Regions from separate parts of the Homo sapiens genome. Here region 1 is linked to region 2. Evidence: promoter capture Hi-C in 16 types of primary human blood cells and fetal thymus (Javierre and others, 2016). All regions are on one chromosome and are shown on one strand. Each heading gives the region's core, a stretch centred on a gene start or on the middle of the fragment in contact. The rest is flanking DNA. Distances are from core to core; before and after follow the strand shown.

Region 1 (3,307 bases), core at 699-3,198, 160 kb before region 2:
AGGATTAAAAGATCTGTTCATACAGATTTCTTTTGGCCTCGACTCTCCTTATCTGGTAATGTCTTTCCTCCTCCTGGCATAGGGAGGGCGTCTTTCACAAGGCGTTTTAGCTCCTGCTTTCAGGAAGAAAAGGGGAGGTCAGAGCCCCCTTTCTGCACCTGCTGTTTCTGAAGTGCCTTTAGTGCAGAGAAATCAATATGCCAGAGTGGTGTATTCTGGGGTGGCGTGTCCTGAACCCCTTCAGTGGCCTGGCTCAGACGGGAGCCTGTGGATGGAGAGCAGTGGACGGGTTCCAGGCTGGAGCAGTAAGGCTCGGTGCTGGGGAGGTGTGTGGCAGGGGGCACACTGATGAGCATTCACTCCTTTAACCTTCGCAAGAACCCCCAGGCCAGGCAGTCAGGTGTGTACAATCTACTGAAGGAGAAAACCGAAGTTTAAGTTCAGTGCACGGCAGGGGTAGAGCTGGGGCTCAAACTCCCCTGTCCAGTCTTCAGCCCCTATACCCCAACCTGCAGGAATAAGTGAATGAATACATGAGGCTGGGTACGCCTGGGGCACAGAGGAGCGAGTGAAATCAGCAGAGGAGGAGGCCCGCGCAGGCGGCAGGAATCAAGGATGCAGTGCCAGGTGGGCTGCGGCGAGAGAGCTTTATTCTGAGGGCAGTGAGAAGCCGTGGGTAGGGGTGGGTGGTCAGTGCCATGGAAAACCCACCCTTGACCCTGAGGACACGCTCCCAGGAGCCCACCCACACCTCATGAACTTGTACGGACAAGGACAATGGGAGGCTGAGACCTGGAGCAAGGGCCTTGTCCCGGGCACAAGGCAAAGGGACGGGCAGCGTTAAGAGACCAGGCCGGCTCCGGCTGGAAGTGGGTGTGTCCTACTGTGTGCTGCCGCATGCATGGTGGCACCTCTGGATGCATTCAACTTCCAGTTCTCTGCAGTGCCAGGTACCTAGTGACAAAGGAGGTCCAGCCCTGGTCCCAGGGAATGGCCCAGTTTGGAAAGCAGCCTAGGTACAGCCTGGCACATAGTAGGTGCTCAGCCAAGACGTGTGTCCTTTTCCCTTCCGTCTCTGACTGTTCCTTTCCTTATCACTCCTGTGCTGAGGCAGGAATCAGCACAGGCAGGGGCACGGCATCCCAAGACATCTGGGCCTGTGCTCAGGACTGTACGGCAGAGTCTCTTAGACCAAAGATCAGTAAATATGGCCCACGGGGCAAATCCCACCCACTGCCTGTTTTTGTACAGCCTAGGAGCTGAGAATGGTTTTTACGGATGAACATTTGCAATCGGTTTGATGAAACACTAACTCTAAACTCCAATTAAGCAAAAGGTGATGTCTGTAAAAAGAACTCTATTCTTCTCATGAGTGGACCTACATTACAAAATACTGGCCTCAATTATTATTATTCTATTTTGAGTTTTGTCAGTTACAAAATAGTAAAAATCTGTTTTCTCACTGCACAATGATTTTGCCCTCAAAGCCTAAAATATTGGTTCTCTGTTCTGTCCTTCCACTCCTCACCCTGCCTGGGGCTCTCCAGATGTAACCAATCCCAGGACTAATGACCCCCACCCGGCCTCCCCAGTGGTCCGTGCTGCGGCCGGTGTGCCCGACTGCAGGGCTGGACTGTGGACTCCCGGGCTGGCCAGCCCCACACCCAGCCTTGCCTTGGGACACAGCTGCTGCCCCGGGGGACCTGTGCCGCAGTGGCCTCACGAGCTGCTCTGGCTACTGGCTGGCAGCCTCGGCTCCCCTGAGCACTGAGCACATTCTTCTCTCCAACTCCCTGCAGGAGCCAAGGCCAGCGGGCGTGGGTGGCTGAAATCTCCCCGGTAACAGGGTCTGCGCCCCTCCTGCTCCCTCTCCGGGCCTCCTCCCTTAACCTGCACCCCGCCCCCACCCCCCACACCTGCTCTCCGGCCCTCAGCCCCTCCCTGCTTACTCCCTCCTTCACGGGCTCCATGTCACCATCTGTGGCACAGTCCCTCTCTGTCACTCTCCCTGCCACCCCCTCATTCTCCTTCCTCCCTCCTGCCTCTCTCTGCATCTCTCCCTCTCACCCGTGTCTCCTCTCCTCTCTTTCCTTCTCGTCTTCTCCCTGTCACGCATCTCTCATCACTCCCCCTCATTCTGCCTTTCCTCCTACTCACGGTCTCCTCTCCCTCTCCCTCTCTCTCTCTCCCCCTCCCTCTTTCTCTCTCTCTCTCTTTCTCCACCTCCTCCCGACCCCCTTTCCCCTCTATTTCTATTGGCTTCTGTGTCCCTTGCTCCCCTCTTCTCTTCCTCACCCTGGGAAGCTTCTCCCCCCTATCCTTGCCCCTGCCCCCCCAGGATGTGTCCTGGAGATGGGGGGTGACGTACCAGGCTCTGGTTGGGAAGTCAGGGCCGGAGACCAGATGGGAGAGGCTCTGTGGACAGCCGTGGCCGAGGGCCTGGGAGGGAACCTGAGCCCGCAAGCGGTCTAGAAGTGGGTGCCTTGTGGGGACCCTAGTTAGGAGTGCCCTGGGGGCACCTGGGGACTGGGCAGGGAGAGGGGACAGCAGAATGATAACCAGCCTGGCGGCAAGGAGGGAAGCCCTCACCCCATGGGCAGGTAAGGAGGCTGGGGCCCGGATGATGTCCCGAAGGGTGGGGTCCTGGAAGCCCATCCTCTGCCCAGGATGAACTTGGGAGGCTGGGGCTGGGGAGGCAGAGGGTGGGGACTCCCAGGGAGGCAGGAGGGAGGCCTTCCTGTGACCTCCCGGTCGGCTGCAGGGGCAGGGGCGTTAGTCTCAGAATCTCGTGCCATGATTCTAGGATCTCGGAATCACAGAATCGCAGGCTGTCAGGGCTGGAGGGAGCCAGATGTATCATGTCGTTGGCTTCCCCAGCTCACGTGGCAGCTCTCCTGAGCTCCCCCTCCATACCCGGCACTGTGCTTGGCACGCCTCCGTTTAATCTCTGCAAACAACCCTGGGAGGTGGGTCCGCTTGTCTTCCATATGACGAAACTGAGGTGCAGCGGGGAGAAGTGACTTGCCCGAGGTCACACAGCAATTTGGCATCATCGCTGTGCAGCAGAGCCCAAGCCCCCAGCGCTGGGCCTGTAGGGTGTGCTCCTGGGATCAGGCCCCAGGCCTGGGGTGCCAGTGAGTCAGTCGGCACTGGCAAGCATAAGCCAGGTGTCTTTGGGGGGAAGGCCGAAGCATGTAGAGGACAAGCAGAGAGCCAGGGGCCATCGCCCTGCACTATTCAGGACTGTCATGGCCTTTGATCCTTCTCAGCCTGAGGCCTTCAGAGGAGCCAGTGTGGCCAGGAGGTA
Region 2 (3,251 bases), core at 49-2,548:
ACACGCACAGGGAGGGAAGGAGAGTGGAGGGAGAGCTCTTCCCTGGATGGAGCAGGCACAAAGTAGCAAAAAGGCACTGGGGTCAGATGGACCTGAGTTCAAGCCCTGCTTCTGACTCTTCCTGAATGTGTGACCTTAGGCTAATGATTTGGCCTCTTTGAAACTCACTCCTCTCCCCCTAATCAGGGTTTGCTGTGAGCATCCGGTGAGAGGATGTCTGAGTGGCAACTGGCCCAGCACAGGGCTCGAAGAATGTCCCTCTGAGAGGCTGTCCCCTGAAGCCAGCCCCACTGTCGCCCCCAGGTCCCTAGGCTTTCAGGGGATGTTTACAAGTTTCCAAAGGAGTCACTATCTCACTGGACACTCGGGCGGGCAGGGAGGCAGGGTGGGCTTCCATGCGACTCTACAGAGAGATCGGAGACATTGAGAGGTGAGGCGACTTGCCAAAGGCCACAGCATCGGAGGGTCACGGATGGGGGACAGGAGACCTTAGAGGTCATCTTCAGACCAGCCCTTCGTGTTACAGATGAGGAAGGAGGCTGAGCGCAGTGCAGGGAAGGGTCCGACTCAAGGTCGCGGCAGGCAGTGTGCAGCAGAGTCAGGGTGGGTGCTCAGAAATAGTGCCCGCTGGGCCAACGCTCCTTCTAGATTCAGCCCGCTCAGAAGGCGCCCCAGGGCTCCTCCATCCAGCTAGCTCCCTGCACCCCTCCGCCACCCACATCCCAAAGAGCGGGAGAAGTAGCCTCGTCGACTCCTTCCCCAGAGCAGGAGTCCCCTTTGGGAGGGAGGAAAGGTCCCAGGTCTCTCCCTGTCCACAGCCCCAAAGGAGAAGGAGAGGCCCCGATCCGGGGCGGCTGGAGAGCTTCTAATGGCCGCGGCCTGCGTCGTCCCGTTGCCACGGCAATGGGTACATCCCTCACTACCAGACCCACCTCCCCCTCCCCTCCTCCTGCCGCTTCTTCCCGCCTCCAGTTCCTCGGAAATGAACCCGGCCGGGTCCCCAGCCTGGCGGGCGAGCCAGGCCCGACAGCCCCGCGTCGGGCGAGCGGAGGACCCACCGCCCGCTCGCCGCCCACCCCGGGGGCCTCACCCGGTCCGACTGCAGCTCTTCCCCCTGGCACAGGCGGCTGAGGAAGGACTTCTGCTCGCGGCACAGCGTCTGCCGGGTGGTCAGGAACACCGTGCCCCCCACGTTGAGCCGCACCCACTTGCCCCAGCCGCCTGCGGCGCGGCCGCCCGCCCCCGCCGGCGGCGCTGCCTCCCCGGCCTCCATCCTCATCGCCGGCCGCGGCGTCTGCATCCTCCTCCCGGGCGCTGGGGGCGGGCGGGGACCGCACGCGGGGCAGGCCGGGAGCTGTAGTCCGCGCCTCCTGGCTCCGCGTGGGCCGCGGGTAGGGTCCCGCCCCGCGCTGCTCCCGCCCCCGGTCCCGCCCCGCTTCGCCCTTCCCCGCAGGCCCGCAGTCTGGGGTGGTGAAGATGCCCTCTGGCCAAATCACTGTGTATGGGGAAGGTCGAACTCCCGGCCTCTGGGAAAAGAATGAGGGCTTCCCCAAATCTGCAGTCATCCCATGGGTCCGAGCATTCTTGTTTTTCCTTTGTGCCGTCTCCGTCGTCCAACAGCTGATAAGGGAAGAAACTTTCCCCTCCAGGAATCCCCATAGCATTGACCCGCATGTGTTTCGTCATATTTTTTCATTTGCCCTTTGTGTGTATAGGGGTGGGGGCGGGGTGGGTGGGAGTGGGTTCTTTCCCTCACCTGAGTTCTTGGAGAACGACATAGCTGGACTTGAGGTTGGCTGAGCACCTGTATGCCAGACACTTTGTGTATATGTGTTATGAATTTAAGCTCTCAGCAGCCCTGTGAGTCTGGTATTTTGGGCTATACCCATTTTACAGATGAAGCCACAGAAGCGAAGTGACCGCCCTACTCACATTGCTGGTGAGTGAGTACCCACCAAGGTCTCTTTCCTGCTCCCTGACCATGGAATGTCAGGGATCCTTGGGAAAGACTTCTAAGGAGGAAGAGTAGAGCACGCCCTGGATCCGAGTCAGGAGAACTGAGTTTCCATTCTGGCTTTTGGCCTTTCTCAGTTTTTCCACGTCCTCCCTAAGAAGGAGGAGGGATTGGTTCTGCGGGTGGCTTTCTGAGTTATTCCCCAGTTAACTCGGAGGGGAACCGTCATTCTGTGGACCTCAGGATGGGGGAAGGGAGCAGTTCCTCATGTGGTCCGGGACCAGGGAGGGACAAGGGCTGACGAGGAAGCTGTCTCCTTAGCTTCCTCTCCTTACTGGTTTCAGTCCTGGTCCTGGCCTATGGGGGAGAGGTCTGGGGCTCCTCTCACTGATCCAATGTCACACGCAGCTGGCCCGAACACTGGGCAGCCTGGCCCTGTGCTGGGAGAAGTTTCCCTGTTACCACCCAATGCCCTGCTTTCTGCATAAAGCTTTTCTCCTTGGCAGGGAGTGGATCAAAGGTGTACTGGAATCCTGCTACTTAAAATTCACTAGGTGTGTCCTGAGCAACTTCCTCTCTGAGATTGGCTTTCTCTCTTGCCAAATGGGATTTACAACAGTTGTGACCCCAGAGCATTGCTGTGAAGATTAAGTTATGAAATGTCTATAAACATCTAGCGTAGGCTGGGTGCGGTGGCTCACACCTGTAATCCCAGCACTTTGGGAGGCCAAGGCTCGCTTGAGCATAGAAGTTCAAGACCAGCCTGGACAGCATAGTGAGACCCCTATCTCTCTCTCTCTCTCTCTCTCTCTCTCTCTCTCTCTCTTTTTCTTTTTTGAGATACAGTCTCACTCTCTCACCCAGACTGGAGTGCAGTGGCACCATCTCAGCTCACTGCAACCTCTGCCTTCTGGGTTCAAGCAATTCTCATGCCTCAGCCTCCTGAGTAGCTGGGATGACAGGCATGCACCACCACGCCTGGCTAATTTTTGTATTTTTAGTAGAGATAGGGTTTCACCACGTTGGCCAGGCTGGTTTTGAACTCCTGAGCTCAAGTGATCCTCCTACTTTGGCCTCCCAAAGTGCTGGGATTACAGGTGCGAGCCACTGCGCCTGGCCCCCATCTCTATTTTAAAAAAATAAAACGATAGAAAACCAAAAAACAGCCGGTGGCTCACGCCTGTAATCCTAGCATTTTGGGAGGCCGAGGCAGGCAGATCACAAGGTCAGGAGTTCGAGACCAGCCTGGCCAACATGGTGAAACCCCTTCTCTACTAAAAATACAAAAATTAGCCGG

What was found. The method cuts DNA at HindIII sites, captures the fragments that hold promoters and counts their contacts. A CHiCAGO score of 5 or more calls a contact.
Region 1: a contact is called between the fragment with the promoter of SSTR3 here and the fragment with the promoter of KCTD17 in region 2, in 2 of 17 cell types (total CD8 T cells and activated CD4 T cells). The highest score is 6.1, in total CD8 T cells.

The regions. Positions count from the first base shown.
Region 1 is chr22:37,211,118-37,214,424 of GRCh38, reverse strand. It overlaps SSTR3 (somatostatin receptor 3), which reads left to right and starts at 1,948. Exons shown (of 2, transcript NM_001051.5): 1 at 1,948-2,600. RefSeq lists an enhancer at 2,130-3,109. The HindIII fragment of the contact is 10,151 bases long and covers 1-2,306 here.
Region 2 is chr22:37,049,789-37,053,039 of GRCh38, reverse strand. It overlaps KCTD17 (potassium channel tetramerization domain containing 17), which reads right to left and starts at 1,298. Exons shown (of 9, transcript NM_001282684.2): 1 at 1,091-1,298. The coding sequence starts at 1,279. RefSeq lists enhancers at 1-412, 413-1,130 and silencers at 1,067-1,186, 1,197-1,506. The HindIII fragment of the contact is 2,809 bases long and covers 1-2,446 here.